Regions from separate parts of the Homo sapiens genome. Here all the other regions are linked to region 1. The links are contacts of gene promoters, found by promoter capture Hi-C in human tissues and cell types (Jung and others, 2019). All regions are on one chromosome and are shown on one strand. Each heading gives the region's core, a stretch centred on a gene start or on the middle of the fragment in contact. The rest is flanking DNA. Distances are from core to core; before and after follow the strand shown. Region 1 holds the start of ZNF442 (zinc finger protein 442). Region 2 has its middle 11 kb from the start of ZNF20. Region 3 has its middle 11 kb from the start of LINC02926. Region 4 has its middle 48 kb from the start of ZNF136. Region 5 overlaps ZNF564 (zinc finger protein 564). Region 6 has its middle 65 kb from the start of ZNF44.

Region 1 (4,750 bases), core at 1,408-3,907:
CATTTATTAGTTCCCAAAATTAATACTTTTATAATTTCTTATGCCTGTCTTACTTTAATCTCTTAATCCTGTTATCTTCGTAAGCTAAGGATGTATGTCACCTCAGGACCCCGTGATGATTGCATTAACTGTACAAATTGTTTGTAAAACATTTGTATTTGAATGATATGAAATCAGTGCACCCTGAAAAAGAATAGAATAACAGCGATTTTCTGGGAACAAGGAAAGATAACCATAAGGTCTGACTGCCTGTGGGGTTGGGCAGAATAAAGCCATATTTTTCTTCTTGCAGAGAGCCTATAGACGGACATGTGAGTAGGAGAAATATCACTGAATTCTTTTCCCAGCAAGGAATATTAATAATTGAGACCCTTCCAGGTGTGGTGGCTCATGCCTGTAATCCCAGCACTTTGAGAGGCCGAGGCGGGTGGATCACAATATCAGGAGATCGAGACCATCCTGGCTAACACGGTGAAACCCCTTCTCTACTAAAAATACAAAAAATTAGCCGGGCATGGTGGCACGCGCCTGTAGTCCCAGCTACTTGGGAGGCTTAGGCAGGAGAACAGTGTGAACCCAGGAGGCAGAAGTTGCAGTGAGCCGAGATTGTGCCACTGCACTCCAGCCTGGGGGACAGAGCGTGAGACTCTGTCTCAAAAAAATATATATAATAATAATAATTGAGACCCTGGGGAAGGAATGCATTCCTGGGGGTAGGTCTATAGATGGCTGCTCTGCGAGTATCTGTCTTAATGCAGTTGAGATAAGGACTGAAATACGCCCTGGTCTCCTGCAGTGCCCTCAGGCTTACTAGGATTGGGAAGTTCCAGCCTGGTAAATTCTAGTCAGACTGGTTGTCTGCTCTCGAACCCTGTTTCCTGTTAAGATGTTTATCAAGACAGTGCATGCACAGCAGGACACAGACCCTCATCAGTAATTCTAATTTTGCCTTTGCCTTGTGATCTTTTATTGCCCTTTGAGGCATGTGATCTTTGTGACTTACTCCCTGTTCGTACACCCCCTCCCCTATTAGAATCCCTAATAAAAACTTGCTGGTTTTGCAGCCCAGGTGGGCATCATGGAACCTGCCGATATGTGATGTCACCCCTGGAGGCCCAGCTGTAAAATTCTTCTCTTTGTACTCTTTCTCTTAATTTCTCAGATGGGCCGACACTTAGGGAAAATAGAACCTACGTTGAAATATTGGGGGCTGGTTTCCCCGATAGTAGTCACTCTTCAGCTGGGTGTGGGTTCTGTCTTTGAAGTAATCTTTTGTTGGAAAGAGAATTCCAGAGGTGCCTGGTACCTAACAAGATCCAACCCCTGAAGCTTCTAAGGAAATATATGACCAAATAAGAGAGCATGGTGTGTGCTTAATAAGTATTTAGGTAAATAAATGTGCACAGGCCAGGCGTGGTGGCTCACGCCTGTAATCCTAACACTTTGGGAGGCCGAGGCCGGCGGATTGCCTGAGCTCAGGAGTTCACGACCAGCCTGGGCAACATGGTGAAACCCTGTCTCTACTAAAATACAAAAAAATTAGCTGGGCATGGCAGCGTGCACCTGTAGTCCAGTGTGCTACTCGGGAGGCTGAGGCAGGAGAATTGCTTCAACTTGGGAGGCGGAGGTTGCAGTGAGCCAAGATTGAGCCACTACAGTCTGTCCTGGGTGACAGAGTGAGACTCCGTCTCCAAAAAAATAAAATAAAAATAAATGTGCATAAGGCATGGCAGTGTAGTATGGGAAAGGAAAGGGAGTGGAAGTTCACAGCACATTCTGAGGCTGTATTTTAAGATGAGAGGTAACATCTATGCAGTTTATCTCGAAGTTATTATCTTGAGATCAGGAGGGGAAAGAGGAAAAGGGAAAGAAGAAGAAAAAAAAGGTTTAAAACGTGGTTTGAGACTCAGCTGCTAAGCTGCTGGTTACACACTCTGGGACTCAACTTCAGGAGTCAGAATCTGCCTTCTAAGCTTGAAAATATGTTTAACCTCCTGAAAGGGGGTTTCCTGCTGAACTGTGGCTGAAATTTCTCTGAACTAATTCAGGTTTTTTCTTTTCCCTTCTTTTGATTCCTTTATAGAAGATTACTGCCATATAATTCCAGATTTTCCATGCATTTAACAATTTTATTTCATTGTTGATGTGTTTTTATTTTCTGGTCTGAGAATGAGTAGATTGGGAGATAAGGTGGGAGAAAGGCTTGACCATGGAGCCAGCAGTCTCATCCTAAATTCCTGATCCCTGGAGGACACCAGGCCTTCCCTCCTGCTTCAGTGTGGTTTGTGTGGCCTGGGCCTCCCCTACCGCTCTGAGGCCAGGGGATGGCTCCACTGGGCAGTGAGTCTCGAATTCCCAGCACACACTTGTGGGTCCCCGTCCAGGAAGAAGGAGCAGGAAGAGCCCATTGAGTACAGGCAGGAAATTCCGCTTAAATGCAAATGTCCCCTGGGAGGGGTCAGGTCACAGCGAAGGGAGGAAGCCCACCCTATCAAGGGCTGTGTCTGGAACCGCTTCATCTCGCTCCACTCAGCCGTGTAAGATCCTTCTTCTGTCAATCAGTTCCCTGGGGGGGCGGAATTTGGAGCTCTACCCAATCAGTGTTGGGGGCGAGTTCTTGGGAACTGCCAGTCAGGCGCGCTGCCGGGAGGAGGGTGGAGCTTTCTACACCCCTCTGAGCTCCCGCTCCTGGCTCTGTAGCTGAGAGAAGCCCTGGCAGGTCAGTGGCAGGCACTGTCACGCTGAGTCCTATGCTGGCAGCGGGGAACCTTGGGGAGAACACGGGACACCGCGGAAGCCGGGAAATGGTGAGTGTGCGGGGCCCGGCGTCCTGGGGCAGGGCGAAGGACTGGTTGGAACCGGCCAGAACCGGCTGTGGCGGGACCCGGGCGTCCCCGCGGCGACTGCGGGGTCTGTGGACCCGAGTTCCCCTGGCCCAGCCGGCCTTCAGTCCCCTCGGCCGCGGGGTGGGAGCTGGGGGCTGGGCCGGCAGCCGGGACCCCGGGCGTCCTGTCCCGTTTCTGCGCAGCAACTGCGGCCCCGGCTCCCGCGCCCTCTCTGGGGCAGCTCCATGCCCACAGCTCCGCGTCTTCCCAGATTGTGCGGCTGTAACCGGCACAGGTTCGCGGTCCGAGTCACTGCACCGAGACTCCAAGGCCTGCAGCAGAAACAGTTTAATAGGGGGAGAGGAGAGAAGACCCCAGTTCCGCCTCCATGAGAGGTTTGGGGATGGGGGTGTTTAGGGGTCTGGACAGGGGCGGCTGAAGTGTGGGGTCGCTGGTTGGTGGGGAAGTGACAGGCGAATCCTGGGACGGGAGGTGAAGAAACCGCATTCTCCTGCTGAGTGGGTTCCCTCGTGGGGTTTTCACCCTGCTTGGCGCCAGCCTTTCCGTTGGAATTCAAGATCTGAGAAAGAACTTGGGCAACTCGAGCAGCTCTCCGAGATCTTATCCCCAGGCACAATGCAGAAGCCGGCGGTCAGTGTCTTCTGTGACCTGACTCTCAGGAAGGCGGCCCCCGCGAGGCAGTGGGGCTCAGGGTACCTGGTTAATATCTAACTGCAATCAGAATCCAGATTCTTGCGTGGGGTTTGTGCACGGGAGGAGCTGTGGTCTGCGGGGTCCCCAGTCCCTTCTTTTCTTCCCAGGGTGACTGATTCCTCTTCGAGTTTTTCAGAGATGGGGGTAGCAGGGTCTCAAATCCACTACCCTGTTCCCTCATTCTAACTCCTCCTAGGGGTGGTAGTAACTCCCTTGGTTTCCAGAGCCTTACGCAGGCTAACTTTCCCTCCTCAGTTCACAGCAACATCATGAACTCCTCCCTCCTCCGCCCCACCCGTGCTAAATTTCAGAGTCCCAGTATTTTAATTTTCATTTTGTTTTCAGAGAGCAATGGATGGCTTCTTTTTTTCTTTCTTTCTTTTTTTTTTTTTTGAGATGGAGTTGTGCTCTTGTTGCCCAGGCTGGAGTGCAATGGTGCGATGTCGGCTCACCGCAACCTCCGCCTCCCGGGTTCAAGAAATTCTCCTGTCTCACCCTCCCGAGTAGCTGGAATTACAGGCACCCACCACCACACCCGGCTAATTTTTTGTATTTTTAGTAGCGACGGGGTTTCACCATGTTGGCCAAGCTCATCTCGAACTCATGACCTCAGGTGATCCGCCCGCCTCGGCCTCCCAAAGTGCTGGGATTACAGGCGTGACCACCGCGCCCGGCCGGCTTCTTAAAAGATTTGTGTTCCTGAACATTTCACATGTGAGGAAGCAGAGAATAACCTGACACTGCACTGTAAAAAACAAAAAAACAAACAAAAAAACCTTTGTGTCTCTCCTTTTCTTTCCCCTGGGTACGGATACCTAATCAACATTGAAAGTCCCCTTTAGAAACTTTATGGGGTGATGTGTTCTCAGCCCACTCTCTGCCTTTTCCTGGTTCTGTTTCAGAACTGCCTGGGGTTGACCCAAGATACACACAGCTGCCCTGTCTCTGGGAGGGTCCAGTGAATATCAGTCCCTGGGTCATTTCTCCCAGTGAGCAGCCTGAGGTGTTGGGGTGGGGCCTCACAGAGAACAGCTGGATGCCCTGGGTGGGATGGGAGGAATATTCTGGTATACCATTTCTATAAAAAGCTAACCCTTGGGACAATCACCTTGTTCTTCCCCAACCCCAGTTTCCATTCCTTGGGGACACACGGCTGGTCAGCCAGTTGAATGATTGTATTTGGGGGAGAAGACAGAAGTGATCTCTTCCTT
Region 2 (4,750 bases), core at 1,668-4,167, 240 kb after region 1:
TTTTTTTTATTTTAATTTTTTTTTTTTTGAGACGGAGTCTTGCTCTGTCGCCCAGGCTGGAGTGCAGTGACTCGATCTCGGCTCATTGCAAGCTCCGCTTCCTGGTTCACGCCATTCTCCTGCCTCAACCTCCCAAGTAACTGGGACTACAGGTGCCCGCCACCGCGCCTGGCTAATTTTTTGTATTTTTAGTAGAGACAGGGTTTCACCATGGTCTCGATCTCCTGACTTCGTGATCCACCCGCCTCGGCCTCCCAAAGTGCTGGGATTACAGGCATGAGCCACTGTGCCCTGCCAAGAATTAGTTATTTTTGTATTGATCCATCATGGTCACTGAAGAGCATCATCTCACATTGCAGGTGTATGACATGTGCCTGTTCAGGGGCAAAAGACTCGGCCTTCTGGCGAGGGGAGGCCAGCCATCAGACTTCTGGACCAGTTTTTACCATACTATTCTCTAAACCCTGATATATTCCCTACAATTTATGGACATTGTTAACCATAACATACCTCAGTTAAAATCTATAAATTCACTTCTTATCAAGGTATATACTATGATTTTATTTATTTATTTTTTGTAGAGATGGAGTCTCCCTGTTTCCCAGGCTGGTCATTGACTGCTGGATCATGTGATTCTTCTGTCTCCATCTCCCCAAGTTCTGGGATTACAGACATGAGCCACCACAATTGGCTACTACTTTTTTAAAAAAATCACCTTGAGTCCTATGGGGCCAATATGTTTTTGAAAACTGAATTTCCTGCCCAGTAAAGAACAAAGTCAGCATCACTATTCCAATCAAGTCTTTCTTTCTCTGGTAACATGCTGTTGATGCAAACTTGTCAGGAACCCTCTTATGCTAATATTATGAAGCTAATGACATCGTGGAAAAGTCATGCATGGAACAATCCGATCATTTCCTTTAAGGTGTCATGGGTGCTTCTCTTCACAAAAGCTTATTTCAGTCTCCCTAGAGTAAAAATCCCAGTCCCAGCAGACATAGAAGCAATCACTGACTGACCAAACCTTAACTATGTGTGATGACATATGGAAAATACCTTGATTTGTGAGATATGAATTTTTTTTTTTTGGAGACAGAGTCTGGAGGACAGTGGTGCAATCTTGGCTCACCGCAACCTCTGCCTCCTGGGGTCAAGTGATTCTCCTGCCTCAGCCTCCCAAGTAGCTGGAATTACAGGCACCTGCCACCATGCCTGGCTATTTTTTTGTATTTTTAGTAGACAGGGTTTCACCATGTTGGCCAGGCTGGTCTCAAACTCCTGACCTCATGTGATCCACCTGCCTCGGCCTCCCAAAGTGCCAGGATTACAGGTGTGAGCCACCATGCCTGGCCAAAAATTCCTTTTTTTTTTTTTGAGATGGAGTCTTGCTCTGTTGCCCAGGCTGGAGGGCAGTGGCGCGATCTCGGCTCACTGCAAGCCTCCGCCTCCCTGGTTCACGCCATTCTCCTGCCTCAGCTTCCCGAGTAGCTGGGACTACAGGTGCCCGCCACCACGCCTGGCTATTTTTTTGTATTTTTTTTTTTAGTAGAGACAGGGTTTCACCATGTTAGCCAGGATGGTCTCGATCTCCTGGCCTCGTGATCCGCCCACCTCGGCCTCCCAAAGTGCTGGGATTATAAGTGTGAGCCACCACGCCTGGCCCAAAAATTCTTATTTTGACTATTCATGTCTTATTTTTGCACTTTTTCACAAAGCAAGGTCAAAAAGCAAAGGAAAAATCCTTTAAGATCAATGTACTTAGGTTGAAAATGTGTTTTTTCTCAGGAAAAACTTGTAATTTATATAATTACAATCCTCAGTTTATTTGCAGCATCACCAAATTTTCTTACATATTTCAAATGTGAACTTAAGATATATATTTTTCTCATTATTTACATTTTGCTTCCTACCTATGGCTTTTTTTTTTTTTTTTTTGAGACAGAGTGTCGCTCTGTTGCCTAGGCTGAATTGCAGTGGCACGATCTCAGCTCACTGCAACCTCTGCTTCCCAGGTTCAAGCAAGTCTCGTCACAACCTCCCAAGTAGCTGGCACTACAGGCGAACACCACCATGCCCAGTTAATTTTTGTGTTTTTTGTAGAATTGGAGTTTCACCATGTTGGCCAGACTGGTCTCTAAACTCCTGGCCTCAAGCGATCCATCTGCCTCGGCCTCCCAAAGTGCTGGGATTATAGGCATGAGCCAACATGCCTGGCTCCTCTAGACCTTTTAAATCTTTTACTCATGATATTGGTCAGCCCACGGTCAAAATAATTCATAAAAGGTATATACAAAAATTCAACACCACAATGAAAGTTAAATTCATTTGTTTAGAACCACTCAAGCAACTCAGGTGTACACAGATAGACCTGTGGCAACTGGTGAACAATTAAATGGCACAGAAGTGGCTGGGTGCAGTGGCTCATGCCTGTAATCCCGGCACTTTGGGAGGCCGAGGCGGGCGGATCATGAAGTCAGGAGATTGAGACCATTCTGGCCAACATGGTGAAACCTGTCTCTACTAAAATACAAAAAATTAGCCGGGCGTGGTGGCGGGCTCCTATAGTCCCAGCTACTCAGGAGGCTGAGGCAGAGGAATCCCTTGAACCCGGGAGGCAGAGACTGCAGTGAGCTGAGATCGTGCCACTGCACTTCAGCCTGGCAAAAGAGCAAGACTCTGTCTCAAAATAAATAAATGGCACGGAAGTTGCAATAATGACCTCTGCTGTGCAGTACTCTCTTGGCAGAGATACACAAGAACTCCAATAAGGCCCTCATATGATATGCAGAACTGCCTCAAACATCATGTGACCATAGAACTTTGCCAAGGACAGTCTTTTTGTACATCTCTGCACCTGGCTTACCCAAAGATTGGACTGGGCGCATTTCTCAAGCCATTGTCTACTGAACGTTCTTTGTAGCGTGTGGGGCAATGACGATTGCCTAGGTGTAATTTCCTAATCGCTGGGGTAGGTCTGGTTTCTGAGGGCCCAGCAGAGGAACTCAGTTCACAAAAATGGCTTCCTGTAGTTTCTGCTTGATACTTCCTATTCTGCCATCTTCCCAGAATCCTCTTTCCTGACTTCATATACTAACACGTCATTTCAGATCTCACTACAGATGTCACCACCTCAAGACACTGTCTTCTTTTCCGCCCCCCTTACCCCAACTTGAAACTCAAGGTCACACTCTCTCACCCATTACTCCTATTTCATTTAGTGTGTAGAATTTTTTCAACACACTTGTCAGAATCTGGAACATAACGTTCACAGGGTTGATTGCTCTCTGTTTAACAAGGTAAAAAGTTAAGTCATGTAGGCTGGGTGCGGTGGCTCACGCCTGTTATCCCAGCACTTTGGGAGGCCAAGGTAGACAGATCACGAGGTCAGGAGATCGAGACCATCCTGGCTAACATGGTGAAACCCTGTCTCTACTAAAAATACAAAAAATTAGCCGGGCGTGGTGGCGGGCGCCCGTAGTCCCAGCTACTCAGGAGGCTGAGGCAGGAGAATGGCATGAACCTGGGAGGCAGAGCTTGCATTGAGCCAAGATTGTGCCACTGCACTCCAGCCTGGGTGACAGAGCAAGACGCTGTCTCAAAAAAAAAAAAAAAAAAGTCATGTAAATTTAAGTGTCACCTTTCTTTTCTTTTCTTTTTTTTTTTGAACCTTTTCACCAACTGTTACACACTTTTTTTTTTTTTGAGACAGAGTCTCGCTCTGTCGCCAGGCTTGAGTGCAGTGGTGCGATCTCAGCTCACTGCAACCTTCACCTGCTGGGTTCAAGCAATTCTCCTGCCTCAGCCTCCCGAGTAGCTGGGATTACAGGCACGCACTACCACACCTGGTTAATTTTTGTATTTGTATTTGTATTACAGATGTGAGCCACCGCGCCTGGCTTACACCCTATATTAAAAAGTATTTCAGGGGCCAGGCACGGCGGCTTATGCCTATAATCCCAGCACTTTGGGAGGCCAAGGCGGGCGGATCACTTGAGGTCAGGAGTTCTAGACCAGCCTGGCCAACATAGTGAAACCCTGTCTCTACTAAAAGTACAAAAATTAGCCGGCTGGGGTGGTGGCCACCTGTAATCCCAGCTACTCGGGAGGCTGAAGCAGGAGAATCACTTGAACCTGGGAGGCAGAGGTTGCAGTGAGCTGAGACTGCAACACTGCACTCCAGCCTGGGCAACAGAGCAAGACCTTGTCTCTAAAATAACATAACATAACATAACATAACATAACATAACATAACATAACATAACATAACAACATAACATAACATAAATACAGTAGAGTAGAGTAGAGTAGAATTTCCAACAAAGTCCTTTGAACCATTTTCCAGAAAGGCAACGTCAATGAAGCTCCCTCTTGTGGTAAGGGCGGCATTAACATCCACACACTGTTGTGACTGGATTTCTCAAAATTGCACAGGGATCTAAGAGTGGAAAAACTCAAAATGTTTTTCCTGTGCATTCACACAATGCAATATCTCTATGACCAAATATGTGGAAGATTTTCTCACACAGCAAACAAGCCATCCATTCTCCACTGAACACCACCTGAGTGTCCTCTAATTCACGTGTCCCCAACTCTCGGGTACAGACGGGTACCTGTCCATGGCCTGTTAGGAACTAGGCCACACAGCGGGAGGTAAGCAGAAGCGAGTGAGCGTTACTGCCTAAGCTCTGCCTCCTGTCAGAGCAGCAGTGGTATTAGATTTTCTTGGGTTGATAACCCTATTGTGAACTGC
Region 3 (4,750 bases), core at 1,622-4,121, 200 kb before region 1:
GTTTTGCTTTGTTGCCCAGGCTGGAGTGTAATGGCTTGATCTCGGCTCACCGCAACCTCTGCCTCCCAGGCTCAAGCGATTCTCCTGCCTCACCCTCCCAAGTAACTGAGATTACAGGCACCGGCCACCACACCTGGCTAACTTTTTTGTATTTTTAGTAGAGATGGGGTTTCATCATGTTGGCCAGGCTGGTCTTGAACTCCTGACCTCAGTTGATCCACCCGCCTTGGCCTCCCAAAGTACTGGGATTACAGGCGTGAGCCACCACGTCCGGCCAAGACTGGTAATTTTAAATGGAAAAGTATATCACAATTTGGTTGAGTGTAGAAGTAGTGTCAGAATGTTTGAGAGAACATACATTACCACTTATTTGTATATTTATATTTTAGATTTGTAACAACTGGTAAGGACTTCTGAAGAGTTTTATTGATGGAGAGATTTTAAAGGATTAAAGAATAAAATATCGCATTTGTAAATGCCATGTAAAATGTTTAAGTTATTTCAGCACTCCCACTGGGTTAAGTGGGAGCCACAAATGGTTCTGAGCAGGCTGGGCGCGATGGCTCATGCCTGTAATCCCGGCACTTTGGGAGGCCGAGGCGGGTGGATCACTTGAGGTCAGGAGTTCGAGACCAGCCCGACCAACGTGGTGAAACCCCGTCTCTATTAAAAATACAAAAACTAGCTGGGCGTGGTGGCTCACATCTGTAATCCCAGCTATTCGGGAGGCTGAGGCAGGAGAGTTACATGAACCTGGGAGGTGGAGGTTGTAGTAAGCCGAGATTGCACCATTGCACTCCAGTCTGGGCGACAGAGCAAGACTCCGTCCCTCAAAAAAAAAAAATGTTCTGAGCAAAGGAAAGACTGATCTGATTTAGGTTTTGCGTAAATATCCTCCAGCTATGGGCTGCGGGGCGTGTGTCGCTGGGTGGGTGGGTTAGGTGGACAAAACTGGATCCTAGTGCCTATGCGCCCCTTTAAAACGAATAAAAAGACGTAGTTCTCAACCAGGGACGTCCTTGGTGATGCTCTGCTGGTCCTGCAGCCTGAGGGCTTTTTCCAGACGCTTTGACCTGTGCACTTCTGCCCCCACGCGGCCAATGCCTGAACTGCAGCAACGTCCTGCAGACCCAGTTTCCTTTTTTGGTACCAGGCATATGCAGGGCGTGGACAGATCCTACAATGGAACCAGCCAGAGACTGCCCTAGAGAAACTCATATGCCGGGATTTGGATGTTTGTAGGATAACATCATGAGCAGCAGCTTTGCAGGACCACACATGTTCCAGGGAGATTCTCAGAGGAGGGATCTTTGGGCAGTGTCTCCAAAGACCAGTAAGAATATTTCAGGAAGACACAACAAGAAAAAATATTCTAGGCAAAGTGAAAACTGACATTGATACCCCGACCCCAACCCCTCTTAACTGCTACTTCCGACCTGGGTCGTGGAGCTACCATTCAAGCCCTATACCCAATACTCATCTTGAACTACTTAACTACTTATTTATGTATTTATTTATTTATTATTATTATTATTATTTTGAGACGGAGTCTCACTCTGTCACCCAGGCTGGAGTGCAGTAGCGCGATCTCGGCTCACTGCAACCTTCACCTCCCGGGTTCATGTGATTCTCCTGCCTCAGCCTCCCTGGCAGCTGTGATTACAGGTACCTGCCACCATGCCTGGATAATTTTTTTTTTCTTTTTCTGAGACAGAGTTTCACTCTTGTTGCCCAGGCTGGAGTGCAGTAGCATGATCTCGGCTCACTGCAACCTCCACTTCCCGGGTTGAAACAATTCTCCTGCCTCAGCCTCCCGAGTAGCTGGGATTACAGACACGCACCACCACGCCTGGCTAATTTTTGTATTTTTAGTAGAGACAAGAGTTTCACCATGTCGGTCAGCCCAGTCTTGAACTCCTGACCTTGTGATCTGCCCGCCTCGGCCTCCCAAAGTGCTGGGATTACAGGCGTGAGCCACTGCACCTGGCCCCACCTGGGTAATTTTTGTATTTTTAGTAGAGACAGGGTTTCACCATGTTGGCCAGGCTGGTCTTGAATTCCTGACCGCAGGTTATCCACCCACCTTGGCCTCCCAAAGTGCTGGGATTACAGGCATGAGCCACCAAGCCTGACCTACTTATTTCTTCTCACTCCCATCATCCCAATTGCCACCACCCAGGTCTAGACACTCACCTGGGTACCTGTCAAAGTGTCCTCCTTGGTCTCCCAAACTTCAATTCCTAGTCATTCACCTCGGCACCAAAGGGACATTTTTCTCTCTCTTCCCTGCTCACACACCTCCCATGGCTCCCTAGTGCTCTCAAGTGCAAGTCCAAGCTCCTCAGCCTGGCACCTGAAGTCTTGAAGACCCAGTTCTGCCTGTCCCACTATATCATTAGCATGACCAACTAGAAAGACATTAATAAAAAGAATAGCACTACCTCTATTTATTGAGTGCCTACCTGGTGCTAAGACATGTGTCTTGCAGTTTCAAGGTGCACTCACAACAACTTTATTATCTTCGTTTTACAGAAGGGGCTATTGAGGTTTAGAGAACTCAAGGGACTTGTTCAAGGTCCCCGCCTAAGTATGAACTCAATTCTTTCCAACTCCAAAGCTCAGGCCTAAACCCAACGCTCTGTCCCCTCCATGACAAACCTCTAGTGGGATGGGTTTAACTTTCTTGCCATTTCTGTCTTTTACTCTACTTGAGCCACTATAACAAAATACAATACGATTACAAAATAACAAAATACAATAACAAAATACGATTCTTGACACCATGAAGTCCAAGGTCAAAATGACAGTAGATTCTGTTCTTGGTGAGGGCTTTCTTCCTGGCTCAAAGATGGCTACTTTCTGGTTGTGTCCTCAAGTTGGGAAGAGGGCATAGGGGTGACAGAGAGAAAGACAGAGAGAAAGAGAGGTCTCTGGTGTTTTTTCATTATTATTATTATTTATTAGTAGTAGTATTATTTGAGACAGAGTCTCACTCTGTCGTCCAGGATGAAGTGCAGTGGTGCGATCTTGGCTCACTGCAACCTCTGCCTCCTGAGGTCAAGTGATTCTCCTGTCTCAGCCTCCGAAGTAGCTGGGATTACAGGTGCCCACCACCATGCCCGGCTAATTTTTGTATCTTTAGTAGAGATGGGGTTTCACCATTTTGGCCAGACTGTCTCGAACTCCTGTTCTCAGGTGATCCGCCCACCTAGGCCTCCCAAAATGCTGGGATTACAGGTGTGAACCACTACACTCAGCCTATTATTATTATTATTGAGACAGGGTCTCGCTTTGTCACGCAGGCTGGAGTGCTGTGGCACAATCATAGCTCACTGCAACCTCAAACTCTTGGGCTCAAAGGATCCTCCTGCCTCAGCTTCCCAAAGTGCTGGGATTACAGGTGTGAGCCACCACGCCCAGCCTGGTGTCTCTTCTTTTTTTTTTTTTGAGACAGAGTCTTACTCTGTGGCCCAGGCTGGAGTGCAGTGGCGCGATCTCGGCTTACTGCAAGCTCCGCCTCCTGGGTTCACGCCACTCTCCTGCCTCAGCCTCCCAAGTAGCTGGGACTACAGGTGCCCGCCACCATGCCCGGCTAATTTTTTGTAGTTTTAGTAGAGATGGGGTTTCACAGTGTTAGCCACAATGGTCTCGATCTCCTGACCTCATGATCCACCCACCTCGGCCTCCCAAAGTGCTGGGATTACAGGCGGGAGCCACCGCGCCCGGCCCTGGTGTCTCTTCTTATAAGGTAACTCATTCCATCATGCGTGCCCCACCCTCAAGACCTCACCAATTATCTCCCAGAGGCCCCATCTGCAAATACCAGCACACTGGAGAGTAGGGATTTATTATATTAATTTATTGGAGGTGGGAGACAGAAACGTTTAGTCCCTTTAAATGGAGTTTAATTCTCTTCCCTTTGAATGTGGAGTGCCAGTTTGTTGTTGTTGTTGTTGTTGTTTCGAGACAGGGTGTCACTCCCAGGTAGTGCAGTGGCAAGATTATGGCTCATTGCAGCCTCAACCTCCCAGGATCAAGCGATCCTCTCACCTCACTTTTTGAATTTTTGCAGTAGAGATGAGCTGAGATTCTGTGTAACCATTTAAGGGTTCCCGGCACTGCATCTCTTGGCCACTAGCTGAATCTTGACATGGAAAGTTTTAGCTAATGCCAAGTGGAGATGCAGAAAATGCTAAGTTGACTTAGGGGCTGTGCACAGGAACTAAAAGGCAGGAAAGTACTAAATATTGCCAAGAGTATCAACCCCAGGATGGACTTTACCTTCTAGGAGCTCTAAACCGGCACCACCCCCAGTGCTCACCTGGCTGACTTTATCCTCCATGTTCCATTCTACACAGCAAGTGGCAGTGTCTCCACCACCTCATCCATGAGGGCTTTGGTTCCCCGGGCAAAAGCTTCCCATTCAAAAACCCCTACAGAAGGCCGGGCGCGGTGGCTCATGCCTGTAATCCCAGCACTTTGGGAGGCCGAGGTGGGCAGATCATGAGGTCAGTAGTTCGAGACCAGCCTGGTCAACATGGTGAAACACCGGTCTCTACTAAAAATACAAAAATTAGCCGGGCGTGGTGGCACGCACCAGTAGTCCCAGCTACTGGGGAGGCTGAGGCAGGAGAATCACTTGAATCAGGGAGGTGGAGGTTGCAGTGAGCCAAGACCGCGCCATTGCACTCCAGCCTGGGTGACAGAGTGAGACTCCATCTCAAAAAACAAACAAACAAAAAACCCCAAA
Region 4 (4,750 bases), core at 934-3,433, 150 kb after region 1:
TGAGGTGGGAGGATTGCTTGAGCCCAGGAGTTTGGAGACTACAGTGAGTTATGATCATGCCACTGCACTCCAGCCTGGGCAACAGAGCAAGACTACATCTGTATTTTTTAAAAACTTCTAAACCATGATCAAGTGAGATTTATCTCCAGAATGCAAACAGTGCATCCTATGAAAATCGGTCAATATAATATACCACATTAGCCGAATGACGGAAAAATCACAGTAATCTCAATTGATACACAAAAGGCATCTGACAAAATTCAAGACCCGTTGATGATAAACAACAAACTAGGAATGGGAGGAAACTAGGTCAATGTAATAGGCCATATATGAAGAATCTACAAGACTATCATACTTAATGGTGAAATATAAACATGGTGATCTTTTCCCCTAAGATCAGAAACAAGATAGGATAACTGCTTTCACCACTTCCATTCAATATAGTACTGGAAGAGCTAGTCAGAGTAATTAGGTAAGAAAAAGAAAAGGCATCCAGTTGGGCGCAGTGGTTCACGCCTGTAATCCTAGCACTTTAGGAGGCTGAGGCGGGTGGATCACCTGAGGCCAGGAGTTCAAGATCAGCCTGTCCAACATGATGAAAACCCGTCTCTACTAAAATACAAAAATTACCTGGGCATGATGGCGGGTGCCTGTAATCCCAGGTACTCGGGAGGCTGAGACGGGAGAATTGCTTGAACCCGGGAGACGGTGGTTGCAGTGAGCCAAGACTGCACCACTGCACTCCAGCCTGGGTGGCTCAGTGAGACTCTGTCTCAGAAAAAAAAAAAAAAGAAAAACAAAAGGCATCCAAATGGGCAAGGAAGAAATAAAATTATGTTGGCAGATGACATAATCCTATGTGTAGAAAATCCTAAAGATTACATACACATATATGTACACAAAAACTGAACTCATAAATGAATTCAGCAAAGTTGCAGGGTACAAAATTAACATTTAAAATTACATTTTTTTTTTGAGACGGAGTCTCGCTCTGTTGCCCAGGCTGGAGTGCAATGGTGCGATCTTGGCTCACTGCAACCTCCACCTCCCAGGTTCAAGCGATTCTCCTGCCTCAGCCTCCTGAGTAGCTGGGATTATAGCTGCCCACCACCAGGCCCGGATAATTTTTATATTTTTTAGTACAGACGGGGTTTCACCATGTTGGTCAGGCTGGTCTCAAACCCCTGACCTCATGATCCACCCGCCTCAGCCTCCCAAAGTGCTGGAATTACAGGTGTGAGCTACTGCACCCAGCCTAAAATTACATTTCAATACACTAACAGTTAATAATCTGAAAAGGAAATTAAGAAAACAATTACATTAGTAATAACATCAAAAAGAATAAAACAGGCCAAGCACAGTGGCTCACACCTGCAAAATCAGCACTTTGGAAGGCCCAAGGTGGGAGGATCACTTGAACCCAGAAGTTCAAGACAAGCCTGAGCAACAAAGTGAGACCTCATACTACAAAAAAAAAAAAAAAAAAAATTGGCTGGACGTGCTGGCCTGTGCCTGTACTCCCAGCTACTGGGAGGCTGAGATGGGAGGACCACTTAAGCCCAGGAGGTTGAGACTGCAGTGAGCCATGATTTCACCACTGCACTACAGTGCAGTGACAGAATGAGACCCTGTCTCAAAACAAAAACAAAAACAAAAAAACAGCTAGCTATAGTGACACAGACATGCAGTCCTAGCTACTGAAGATCCTAAGATGGGAGAACAGCTTGAGCCCAGGAGTTTGAGACTAACCTGGACAACGCAGCAAAACGCCATGACAAAAAATTAACCAAAAAAGCAAAAGACTTGTATACTGAAAACTATAAAACGTTACTGAAAGAAATTAAAGCTATAAATAAATGGAAAGACATTCTGTGTTCATAATTTAAAAGACTTAATTTTGTTAAGGTGTCAATATATTACTGCAAATGCTCTACAAATTCAAAGCAATCATTATCAAAAGGCCCATGACATTTTTTTCTGGAAACAGAAACACTCATCCTAAAATTCACAGGGAATCTCAAAGGACCCCAAATAGCCAAAACAATCTTGAAAAAGAACAACAGGCTGGACATGGTGACTCACGCCTGTAATCCCTGGACTTTGGGAAGCCAAGGTGGGTGGATCACCTGAGGTCAGGAGTTCGAGACCAGCCTGGCCAACATGATGAAACCTCGTCTCTACTAAAAACACAAAAAATTAGTTGGGTGTGGTGGCATATGCCTGTAATCCCAGCTACTCAGGAGGCTGAGGCAGGAGAATCGATTGAACCTGGGAGGCGGAGGTTGCAGTGACCCGAGATCACACCACTGCACTCCAGCCTGTGCAACAAGAGCAAAACTCCGTCTCAAAAAAAAAAAGAAAAACAACAACAAAGCTGGAAGCCTCACTCTTCCTAGTTTCAAAACTTACTCTAAGTTTTGGCTGGGCACGGAGGCTCATGCCTGTAATCCTAGCACTTTGGGAGGCTGAGGCAGGCAGATCACCTGAGGTCGGGAGTTCGAGACCAGCCTTACCAACAAGGAGAAACCCCATCTCTACTAAAAATACAAAAAAATAAGCCGGGCATGGTGGCCCATGCTTGTAATCCCAGCTACTCGGGAGGCTGAGGCAGGAAAATCGCTTGAACCAGGGAGGCGGAGGTTGCAGTGAGCCGAGATCGAGCCATTGCACACACACAAAATTAGCTGGGTGTGGTGGCACATGCCTGTAATCCCAGCTACTCAGGAGGCTAAGGCAGGAGAATAGATTGAACTTGGGAGGCAGAGGTTGCAGTGACCCGAGATCACACCACTGCAGTCCAGGCTGTGTAACAAGAGCAAAACTCTGTCTCAAAAAAAAAAAAAAAAAAAAAAGAAAAGAAAAGAAAAAGAGAACAACAAAGCTGGAAGCCTCACTCTTCCTAGTTTCAAAACTTACTCTAAGTTTCAGTAATCAAAATAGTGTGGTGTTGACATGACATAAAGGCAGATATATAGAGCAATGGAGGCCGGGTGTGGTGGCTCACGCCTGTAATCCCATCACTTTGGGAGGCCAAGGTGGGCAGATCATTAGGTCAGGAGTTCAAGACCAGCCTGGCCAACATAGTGAAACCCCGTCTCTATTAAAACTGCAAAAAAATTAGCCGGGCGTGGTGGCGGGCACCTGTAATCTCAGGCTGAGGCAAGGAGAATCGCTTGAACCTGGGAGGCGGAGGTTGCAGTGAGCCAAGATCGCGCCACTGCGCTCCAGCCTGGGTGACAGTGCGAGACTCCGTCTCAAGAAAGAAAGACAAAAAAAAAAAAACAGAGCAAAGGAATAGAATAGAGACTTCAGAGAGATACCCTTAATTTAAATCAGACTTAAGCCCACAGTCCTGAAACCCTCTAAAGCAACCACTGCCATGAGGGAGGCCCATAACCATGATGACACTGACTTGAGGCTCTCTAGAGAATGAAGGATATAAATATAAGTAGGGTACACAGAACACCCCTCTCCCTCACCCTGCAATCACCAAAAGAAAAAAGAAAAAAATTGAGACAAAGGTCCATAATTTGATCAAATTAGAAATCCAAAGTTTATTAAAATAACAGCAAAAAAATAAATGGGTGCTGACTGGGTTTCACACCTCTACAAAACAGGCTCCGAATTAACTTCAACATCCGTTGAAATGCATCAGTTGGCAAATTTCCATGTCCTTAATCAATACTGGGGCTTAAATTACAGTTTTACCTTAAGATACCATTGAATTTAAACATGGCACCCCCTCCCCCAGTATAACCTTATAGCAAATTCCTGAATAACAAACAGGTATGCCTCAACTTGCCTTTATTGGATTTCTTTCTAGTGAGAATTTTCACATGACTTTGACAGTATTTGTTAAAACTGAAAAACTTCCTGTATTTCTCACATTTGTAAGCTTTATATCTAGCACATTCTTATTGCATGTTTTTGTAAGGAGGTGGGCAAGTTGAAAACTCCCACTTTACTTACATTCAAGAAGTTTTCTGCCAGGGTGTATTTTTTCATGGCTTCTAAATGAACTGGGATGACTGAAGGCTTTTCCACATTCTTTACACTTTATAGGGCTTCTCTCCAGTGTGCATTCTCATGTGTCCTTGAAAAGTTGTACAATAAATGAAAGCTTTGCCACACTGCTTGCATACATAGGGTTTCTCTCCAGTGTGGGTTCTTTCATGTATTCAAAAGGAATTGTGCCAAATGAAGGCTTTACCACATCGTTTACATACGTGGGGTTTCTCTCCACTATGACTTCTTTCATGTATTCTAAAGGAACTGGAACAACTGAAGGCTTTACCACATTGTTTACATTCATACGGTTTCTCTCCAGTGTGAGTCCTTTCATGGATTTGAAATGAATTAAGACAATTGAATGCTTTCCCACATTCGTTACATTTATAAGGTGCATCTCCAGTATGCATTATCATGTGCATTTGAAAGCTTGCAAGAGAAAGGAAGGCTTTCTCACATTGTTCACATTTATAAGGTTTCTCTCCAGTGTGAATATTCATGTGTCCTTTTAACGTAGTTCGATAAATGAAGGCTTTCCCACATTCGTTACATTCACAGGGTTTCTCTCCAGTGTGAGTTCTTTCATGTACTCGAAAGGAACCAAGCCAACTGAAGGCTTTACCACATTGTTTACATTCATATGGTTTTTCTCTAGTGTGAATTCGTTCAGGTACTTGAAATGAACTAGGACAACTGAATGCTTTTCCACACTCCTCGCATTTATAAGGTCCATCTCCACTGT
Region 5 (4,750 bases), core at 799-3,298, 160 kb before region 1:
CACATGATAAAGCACACTGGAGATGGACCTTATAAATGTCAGGTATGTGGTAGAGCCTTTGACTGTCCCAGTTCATTTCAAATACACGAAAGAACTCACACTGGAGAGAAACCCTATGAATGTCAGGTATGTGGGAAAGCCTTCATTTCTCTTAAAAGGATTAGAAAACATATGATACTGCACACTGGAGATGGACCTTATAAATGTCAGGTATGTGGTAAAGCCTTTGACTGTCCTAGTTCTGTCCGAACACATGAAAGAACTCATACTGGAGAAAAACCCTATGAATGTAAAGAATGTGGGAAAGCATTCAATTATGCCAGTTCCATTAGAATACATGAAAGAACTCATACCGGAGAAAAACCCTATGAATGTAAGCAATGTGGAAAAACGTTCAGTTATTCCAGTTCCTTTCAAAGACATGAAAGAGCTCATAATGGAGATAAACCTTACGTAAAGAATGTGGGAAAGCTTTCATTTATCACACAACCTTCGAATACCTGTGAAAATGAATAGTGGAGGACAGGTCTACAAGTATCTACATATCTAAAGAATATGGAAAGTCTTCAGTTTGCTTTCTGGGTTTCAGACTTGTTTGGGAGCTCACCCCTTTCTCCTGTTTCTCACTTTTGGAATAGGAATCTCTATCCTGTGCCTGTCTCATATTTTGGAAATACATGACTAGTTTGGTTTTCACCGGTTCGGAGCTGAAGAAGAATTTTGCCTCAGCATGAATTGAGTCTCATCCATATCTGAGTGATGTGATATTGAGATGACACTTTGGAGTTTGAGTTTAAACATTAGGCTTCATGCTGGAATTAACTGAGACTTTTGAGGCCTTTGGGATGAGATGAATATATTTTACATGTGATGACATGGATTTTGGGGGCCAGAGGTGTAATGTTTTGGCTGAGTGTATGCCACCTCAGATTCATATGTTGAAACCTTACCCCCGTGCCCCCCCTCTCCCCCACAATGTGATGGTATTTGGAGGCCCTGTCTCTGGTGGTTTTTAGGATTGGAGGACATCATGAAGATGGAGGCCTTGTAATTGGGATTAGTTTCCTGATAGGAATCCCTAGAGAGCTAGCTTTGCCCTTCACCATGAGAGGGTGCAGTGAGAAGATAGCTATCTTTGAACCGGGAAGCAGGCCCTTACCAGACATGGACTATGCCAGTGCCTTGATATTGGACTTCCCAGCCTCCCAAACCATGAGAAATAAATGTTTGTTGATTAATTAAGCTTTCCAATTTATGGTATTTTGTTTTAGCAACCCAAGCTAAGACACAATCCAATTTTAAAATGGAGGAAAGGACTTGAATAGACATTTCTCCAAAGAAGATACCCAGATGGCCAATAAGCACGTAACAATGCTCGACATCTTTAGTCATTAGGGAAATACAAATCAAACTCAAGACATACATAGCATCTCATTAGGATTAGTAGTATCAAAGATGGAAAACAAGAAATACTGTCAAGGATGTGGAATGTTGGAGAACATTGTGCACTATCACTGGGAATGTACAGTGGTATAAGCCTGCTGAAAACAGTATGGCAGATCCCCAGATTAAAATATAGAAATAACATATGATCAGCATTTCCATTTCTGGGAAAATAAAAAGATTGAAAGCAGGGCCGGGCGTGGTGGATCACGCTTGTAATCCCAGCACTTTGGGAGGCCGAAGCAGGCGGATCACAAGGTCAGGAGATTGAGACCATCCTGGCTAACATGATGAAACCCCGTCTCTACTAAAAAAAAATTAGCCGGGCGTGGTGGCAGGCGCCTGTAGTCCCAACTGCTCGGGAGGCTGAGGCAGGAGAATGGCATGAACCCGGGAGGCAGAGCTTGCAGTGAGCTGAGGTCGCGCCACTGCACTCCAGCCTGGGTGAGAGAGCAAGACTCCGTCTCAAAAAACAAAACAAAACAAAAAAGATTGAAAGCAAAGTCTCAAATAGGTTTTGTACACCTGTGTACATAGCATCATTCACAATAGGTAAACTCTGGAAACTACTCAGGTTTTCATCAACAGATGAATAAACAAAAGGAAGTTTATACATACAAGAGAATATTACTGAGTCTTACAAAGTAAGGAAATTTACAAATATGCTGCAAGATGAACCTTGACGTGCTAAGTGAAATGGGCCATTCATGTAAAGACAATACGGTATGATTCTACTTATATCAGGTATCTAGAGTAGTCATATTGATAGAAAAAGTACAATACCATTTGCCAAAGGTTAGGGAAATTGGGTAATGGATAGTTATTTCATGGGCATAGAGTTTCAATTTTGCAAGATAAAAAGGGTTCCAGAGGTGGATGGTGGTGATGGTTGCACACTAGTATGAATGTTCTTAATGGCACTGAACTGTACACTTAAAATTGATTATGATGGTGAATTTTATGTATGTTTTACACACAAAAAAGGGAGAAAAGACCACAGTACTGCATAGACCTTGTGGGACCTTCAGCATACCAAGACACTCTAGGTCTCTCTTTTTTTTTTTTGAGATAGGGTCTTGCTCTGTCGCCCAAGCTGGAGTGCAGTGGTGAGATCTTGGCTCACTGCACCCTCTGCCTCCCAGATTCAAAGGCTTCTCATGCTTCAGCCTCTTGAGTAGCTGGGATTACAGGTGCGCACCACCACACCCAGCTAATTTTTGTATTTTTAGTAGAAACGGGATTTCGCCATGTTGGCCAGGCTGGTCTTGAACTCCTGATCTCAAGTGATCTGTCCGCCTCGGCCTCCGATAGTGCTGGGGTTACAGGCGTGAGCCACTGCGCCTAGTCTCTAGGTCTCTTTCCTACTTGTTCTCAGCACTGTTTTTTTCGTTTTTCTATCCATGAGGGACCTGTTCCTACACAGTCCATTTGGATTTTAGTAGGCATTTAGATTTGATCCCCAGGATTGACTTCCCTGTCTCCTCCCCCCTTCACTGTAGACCTGGACCTCACTCCCAGACCCAGGGCCTATGATAACCACTTCCCTTTATTGAAGAGGGATACTTTTAATTTCCTCTGCACACTATTCACAGACATGTATATCAAATATATATCTGATAATTTAAGCAAATAGAAATTCTTTGCTCGGAAATCTTTAAGAATATGAGAAGAAATAGCAGCATATAGTGTCCAGAAAAGGTGGGAGAGAACTTCTTAGGTATGGAAAGTTTATGTAATAGGTAATGTGTAACTATTTACCACTAATTCTGTACCTGGGGTAAAGGTGGTGTTCAAGAAATGGAGAGCCAGGCCTGGTGTGGTGGCTTATGTCTGTAATCCCAGCACTTTGGGAGTCCGAGGCAGGCAGATCACTTAAGGCCAGGAGTTCGAGACCAGCCTCGCCAACACAGCGAAACCCTATTTCCACTAAAAACAGAAAAATTAGCTGGGTGTGGTGGTGCACACCTGTAATCCCAGCTACTTGGGAGGCTGAGGCAAGATAATTGCTTGAACCTGGGAGGCAGAGGTTACAGTGAGCTGAGATCACGCCACTGCACTCCAGCCTAGGTGACAGAGCCAGACTCCATCTCAAAAAAAAAAAAAAAAAAAAGCAGTGGATAAATAAGTCACTGCTTGCACAATAAAGAAATAAATGGGCCAGGCACAGTGGCTCATGTCTGTAATCCAGCACTTTGGGAGGGTAAGGCGGATGGATCACGAGGTCAGGAGTTTGAGACCAGCCTGGCCATCATGGTGAAACCCCAACTCTACTAAAAATACGAAAAATTAGCCATGCATGGTGGCTGACGCCTGTAATCCCAGCTACTCAGGAGGCTGAGGCAGGAGAATTGCTTGAACCCAGCAGGCGGAGGTTGCAGTGAGCCAAGATTGCACCACTGCACTCTAGCCTGGGCGACAGAGTGGGACCCCATCGCAAAAAAAAAAAAAAAAACAAAAAACAACTCTGCAAGGAAATGAAGCAAGTGATCCCTCTTGGAGTGGATTTCATGAAGTACCTTTAAATGGCAGAACATCAGGTTTCCATTTCCAAAATTATTTTTCTTCATGCTCTGACTGAAATAGTGACTGGTGTTGGAGAAACGGGTGGAAGATAGCGTAATAAACCAAATTGTTCTTTCTAGTGGGGAAAGCATGAATCACCCAAAACTAATAATCACGGAATTTACTTACATGGTATGGAAGAATAAGCAACCATAGAAGAAATCAGAATAGTTGTCACAGAACTAATTTACAAGCATTAGTGCTGTTTCCCAGGCCAGGTTCTATCTTGTTCTCAAGGAATAGTTACATCTTCAGTGTAAATTATGGGTACCATTGAGAGAAGTTTTACTTTCTACTTTATGAAAATGATGATGATGACAATAATACCGCAACATGAGTACTGCTAATGGAAACACTTTATGCCCAGGCACAGTGGCTCACGCCTGTAATCCCAGTACTTTGGGAGGCCGAGGTGTGCAGATAGCTTGAGGTCAGGAGTTCAAGACCAGCCTGGCCTACGTGGTGAAACCCCGTCTCTTATTAAAAATATAAAAATCAGCCGGGTGTGGTGGTACACGCCTGTAATTCCAGCTACTCGGGAGGCTGAGACAGGAGAATCGCCTGAACCTGGGAAGCGGAGATTGCAGTGAGCTGAGATCATGCCACCGCACTTCAATCTGTGTGACAGAGTGAGACCCTGTCTCAAACAAAACAAAGCAAAACAAAACGCTTCAGACAGAATTACTGTCAAGCACGTCACGATGCACCTTCTGTGGGTTATCTTACTACATTTTACCTGTCTACT
Region 6 (4,750 bases), core at 1,133-3,632, 140 kb after region 1:
GAGAAACACCCACAGGTGTGGAGGGGCAACCCACCCCTTCAGATAGCTCTATTGTTCTCAAAAAAGTCCAGGGACAAATTTGCCCTGTAAATCCAAATATGTTTTCTCTCCTTTCTAACAATACTATCTGAGATCAGCGTTTAATAGTTGTTTGTTTAGATGCTTAATGGACTCCTCCTAACAGTGTTTTTTTCCTGGTTTTGTCCACAAATTAGCTGGCCTACAGTGCAGGCAGTATCTTCATTAAATCCACAAATCTCCTGTGAATTGTCTTTCACCTCCATTTCCCCATTTCCACTGCATCAAGGATGGAGTGCCCTTTGACTTAAATGTCTCATGATCTGTTGCAATTGAAGTTAATTCTTAGGCAAGAGGTTAGGAGCTATGTGTTTCACAGCTTGCTTCTCTTCCACCTCAAGGCAAAATCTGACAGGGCTCTGAAGCTTGGGTAGGAGCGTTGGCAAGCTGCTTTCTGAGTAATCCTCTCTCTTTAGGAACTGAGTGTTCAGTGGCGGGGAGGGACAGCAGCCTGATGTCCTCTTGGCCTGTGTCCTGGCATGGATCCACCACCTCTACGAGCTGAGGCAAAGTTGATCAGTGTCCTAGTAGTCTGAGTGCACCATACTCACAAACCATGTCCCCACTTTTCAAACATACCCACACAGGACATAACCTCAGTAATGGGTAGGTGGAGGTAAGATGAGAAAAGCTGAAGTTCTGCCCTTCCTGGAAAAAAGCCTTTGACTAGAGGCTGGGTGACCGAGTAGAAGCATCACCATCGTGGACAAGCACCTCATTTTAAAAGTCACCTTAATCAAAAACTGCCTAAATCCAAAGGGCATCAGCCTAATGGCTAAGTCAGCATGATCATAAACCACAAATAACATCTCCAACCAGAAACATTCCAACTCCTCCCAGACCAGAGACATGCTAGCCCCAAGATAATCCACCTCTGCCCAGAGACATTCCAACGCCCCCATAAACTTCTCCCCTACACAGAAACATTCCAAGCTTGTAATAAGCCCCCTCACCCTAAAACCAATATACACTCTTAGTCTGTAAGAGAAAGCACTTCTGACAGAAATCAGCCAGAAGCCCCTCTCAGGTTTTTTCTAAAATAAACCTGTCTTTGACTGTCAAGCTGCATTTCGTGTTTCTTTCCTCTAACTCTTACATTTGGTGCCGAAACCCAGGATGGGTGCTGGGGGCAGAGGCTCTCCTGCAACCCAGGAAGCAGTGGGCAACAGCAGCTTGTCCTGAGTTAATTCCTGGATCCTGGAGGTCTCTGGCCACCACTCGTTGTCTTTTTATTCAGTTCACTTTTCTCTAATCCTCCCTTTTCTCTCTCTCCCTTGTGCAGCTGCAGCCCAAGAGGCCAACTGGAACGTTAACATCAGACACTAATCCAGCTGACTGGTAAGATCTGCCCTCCCCTGGCTTTCTCATGGTATCTGGAAAAAGTCAGGTCTGCCATCTCGGTCCTCAGAGGACCAGTGGGACTAAGCTAGAGGAAATCTTGGGGATGCCCAGTTTCTTCTCAGCTTGACCATCCTCTTTAGAAAGAGAACTCCAGGTCTCTGTCTTTTGTCTGGGGACGCCTAGAACAAAAACAGACACCCTCGGCTTCTTCTTGCCAGTCCACATGGGTGCCAAACAATCCCACATTCCCACACCCTCTCCACTGTGCTGTCTCCTTCACAACCTCGCCAAACTTGGCTTAAGCATGTAGTCTTTTATTGTAACATGGCCTGGCCCCAATACACATTAGATAATGACAGCTGATGGCCCAAAAATGGCACCTTTAGCTTGCAAATTCTCAGGAACCTTAACAACTTTATAACCAAGAACAGCAAATGGCAAGAGGTTCTCTATATTCAGGCTTTCTGCTTCTACTTTAAATCCCAACGCTCCCTGTGTCAAGTTTGCACCTCTCATAAAATCTTTCTTCCTAAATCTTTCTTCCTGGCTGAGCGTGGTGGCTCACGTCTATAATCCCAGCACTTTGGGAGGCTGAGGCGGGCTGATCACGATGTCAGGAGATCGAGACCATCCTGGCTAACACGGTGAAACTCCATCTCTACTAAAAATACAAAAAATTAGCCGGGTGTGCTGGCGGGCACCTGTAGTCCCAGTACTTGGGAGGCTGAGGCAGAAGAATGGCGTGAACCTGGGAGGCAGAGCTTGCAGTGAGCAGAGATCACGCCACTACACTCCAGCCTGGGTGACAGAGCAAGACAAAGTCTCAAAAAAAAAAAAAATATCTTTCTTCCTAATGAAAACCCTCTCCAGGTCTTTCCCTCCTCCAAGCTATGAGTATATTCAAAAGGCTTCTCTTCATAGATCTTGTTTTCCTGGAAAAGGTTTTTTCCCAGTTAACTGAATTACTTTTTTCCACTCTGTCTTGCCACTCTTGGTGCATGTATAAAATCCTAAAACGGTTTCTGGTGGCCTGGGATCCCTTGGGAAAACAGAAAAGGCACCACAAATCCCATTTTGGGAAAAATCTGTTTTCCTTATGGAACCCCTGGAATTAAAGGTGAATAAGTACCTCTCAAAATCTTTGTCTTCCAGCTCTACTTGTTTATTAGGCCCTGGAAACTGTTTTCCTAGCCCTGTTCTTAAAGGGCACCACCCAAAGGCCAATAAGCCAATTGGGAAATTAGGAGAAAAAAAATATTGTAACTACTGAATCTTCTTCTGGTTGTCTGTGTGGTTATATATGTGTTATGTGTGCAATGTCTATTAAAGGAACTCTAATTATAATTGGCAAAAAAAATAAGTGCTTAAATCAAATATTTTTAAGGGAAAAGTAAAAGCTGTGGGATCTTTCAGTTCACATGACTTTAATCTTTAAAACTTACTGGTACAGTAAAGTTAGAACTGTCTTAAGAGTTACCAGCATATGTTTTTGTTTGCATTTATTAATCAAGCAATTTCATTCTTATCTCTGCCAAATACTATAAGGTATCAAAACAAACAAAACTATGACTCAGCCCAAACAAAATAATCTTTGTATAATTTTTTAATAAGTGAAACATTAATATTGGTTTAATGAAAATAGCTACATCCTAAGCCATTTAATATCCTAACTTCTAATCTTATGGACTTAGGCAGTCTAGTCCACAGGCATGAAGGAAGTTTGTTTTGGGAAAGGACTGGTATCTTTTATATTAAAAGATAATTTATATTTAAAAATTTTATATGGTAAATTTTTGTACTAAAGTAAATTAACTGGTTGTTTAAAGAGAGAGATGTTTACAACAAGTCAGAAAGTTGAGGCATGTCAGACTGTGAAAGGCATGAAAAATTTTATAAATGGAATTTATGCAAGAAATGTACAATTTAAAAGTGATTAGGCCTCCTGACTGCTTTATAAAATGCCCCTATAACTCTTACCTGTACAACTTGCCTGCTTTGCAGCTAGGTAAAACCTAGGACACACGGAATTAAATGCTGGACTAAGCCAGACCTTATCTGCACAGAAGTCTAGGTCCTAGGCTCTACACCTAGTACATAATTAAAATCCCAAACTTACCAAGGTTTTCAACAAAAGTAAACTTTACTGAAAGTTAATTATGTGGAAAGTGTGTAAGGAAAGTAAAATACACTTTTGGTAAAAAGATTATAAGGAGGCATGAGAATGTGGATTTTTACCTACATTAAAAAGTTAAACAATTGTTTTGAAGGTTTAAAAAAGTTAAGTTAAACAATTGTTTTGAAGGTTTAAGCACGTTTTGGCAGGTTAATTGTAAAGGAAATTCTGTGTAAACATATTGGCTAAAGTTGAAGGGGTAGCATCTAGTTTTTCTGTAAATTGAGCATTAAAATAAAAACACAACGGGTTTCTCTTAAGCACTAACCTGCTTTTTAACAAAAATTATAAAGGGTTAAAAAGGGTCTATAAAAATCTTACCTTATGGTCAAACATTAAAATTGAGTAAATGCATCTACAAGGTTTTATTAAAAATGGAGTTTAATATTCATAGCACACTACTATAATGGTAAAATTTGGCATATTTGGTATAAAATCATACAGGAAGCATTGTCAAATACAAAATGGTGTTTGGCTTTCTTTGGGCTATATTTGTATAAGTATGTTATTGGTATGTGTTTCAAAGTTATGGGAGACTCCTATAATTCTGACATATCTTAGTGTACCTTATAAGTAATAATTATAATTGTTATGTTAAAATTATTGTGTGCCACAAAGGTAACAGATATCCTTGTCAATTGCGTCTTTAAGTATGGCTATTCTAAAACTTTTTTTCTGAGACGGATTTTCACTTTTGTTGCCCAGGCTGGAGTGCAATGGCACGATCTTGGCTCACTGCAACCTCTGCCTCCTGGGTTCAAGCAATTCTCTTGCCTCAGCCTCCAGAGTAGCTGGGATTACATACAGGTGCACACCACCACACCTGGCTAATTTTTGTATTTTTAGTAGAGACGAAGTTTCACCATGTTGGTGAGGCTGGTCTGAAACTCCTGACCTCAAGGTGATCTGCCTGCCTTGGCCTCCCAAACTGCTGGGATTACAGGCATCAGCCACCACGCCCGGCCTATCCTAAAACTTTCTGTCATCCATAAACAATTGTTGTCTTGTTTTGGTCCTCTTTAAAAAGGTGGTTTTATAATCAGCTATAAAGGTCTAACAGGTGCCCTTGAATGCAAGTTTCTGAAAATTGTGATATCACAATAGAGGAAAAACGTTCAGAACTCTTAAAAAGCTAAAATGTTAATATGAATCAGGACA

The links. The method cuts DNA at HindIII sites, captures the fragments that hold promoters and counts their contacts. A contact is called where the count stands out against the background at its distance.
Region 2: a fragment that was not itself captured here is called in contact with the fragment with the promoter of ZNF442 in region 1 in 7 of the 25 tissues and cell types used here (H1 embryonic stem cells, IMR-90 fibroblasts, dorsolateral prefrontal cortex and 4 more).
Region 3: a contact is called between a fragment that was not itself captured here and the fragment with the promoter of ZNF442 in region 1, in 1 of the 25 tissues and cell types used here (spleen).
Region 4: a contact is called between a fragment that was not itself captured here and the fragment with the promoter of ZNF442 in region 1, in 3 of the 25 tissues and cell types used here (dorsolateral prefrontal cortex, mesenchymal stem cells and spleen).
Region 5: a fragment that was not itself captured here is called in contact with the fragment with the promoter of ZNF442 in region 1 in 5 of the 25 tissues and cell types used here (heart left ventricle, lymphoblastoid cells, mesenchymal stem cells and 2 more).
Region 6: a fragment that was not itself captured here is called in contact with the fragment with the promoter of ZNF442 in region 1 in 1 of the 25 tissues and cell types used here (mesenchymal stem cells).

What each region holds. Positions count from the first base shown.
Region 1 is chr19:12,363,590-12,368,339 of GRCh38, reverse strand. ZNF442 (zinc finger protein 442) reads left to right here and starts at 2,657. Exons shown (of 6, transcript NM_030824.3): 1 at 2,657-2,807; 2 at 3,097-3,538; 3 at 4,669-4,750. The coding sequence starts at 4,709. RefSeq lists an enhancer at 2,744-2,843 and a silencer at 2,944-3,123. The HindIII fragment of the contact is 16,775 bases long and covers 1,652-4,750 here.
Region 2 is chr19:12,126,531-12,131,280 of GRCh38, reverse strand. No RefSeq gene overlaps it. Among named protein-coding and RNA genes, the nearest start is that of ZNF20, 11 kb to the left of the region's middle. The HindIII fragment of the contact is 9,523 bases long and covers 1-4,750 here.
Region 3 is chr19:12,560,596-12,565,345 of GRCh38, reverse strand. It overlaps the pseudogene PGK1P2. Among named protein-coding and RNA genes, the nearest start is that of LINC02926, 11 kb to the right of the region's middle. The HindIII fragment of the contact is 4,912 bases long and covers 416-4,750 here.
Region 4 is chr19:12,208,651-12,213,400 of GRCh38, reverse strand. It overlaps the pseudogene LOC100289333. Among named protein-coding and RNA genes, the nearest start is that of ZNF136, 48 kb to the right of the region's middle. The HindIII fragment of the contact is 4,844 bases long and covers 1-4,605 here.
Region 5 is chr19:12,522,212-12,526,961 of GRCh38, reverse strand. ZNF564 (zinc finger protein 564) reads left to right here. Exons shown (of 4, transcript NM_144976.4): 4 at 1-1,589. The coding sequence ends at 516. Among named protein-coding and RNA genes, the nearest start is that of ZNF564, 27 kb to the left of the region's middle. RefSeq lists a silencer at 4,633-4,750. The HindIII fragment of the contact is 4,073 bases long and covers 12-4,084 here.
Region 6 is chr19:12,227,126-12,231,875 of GRCh38, reverse strand. It overlaps the pseudogene LOC100289333 and a transcript of ZNF44 not described here. Among named protein-coding and RNA genes, the nearest start is that of ZNF44, 65 kb to the left of the region's middle. The HindIII fragment of the contact is 3,310 bases long and covers 728-4,037 here.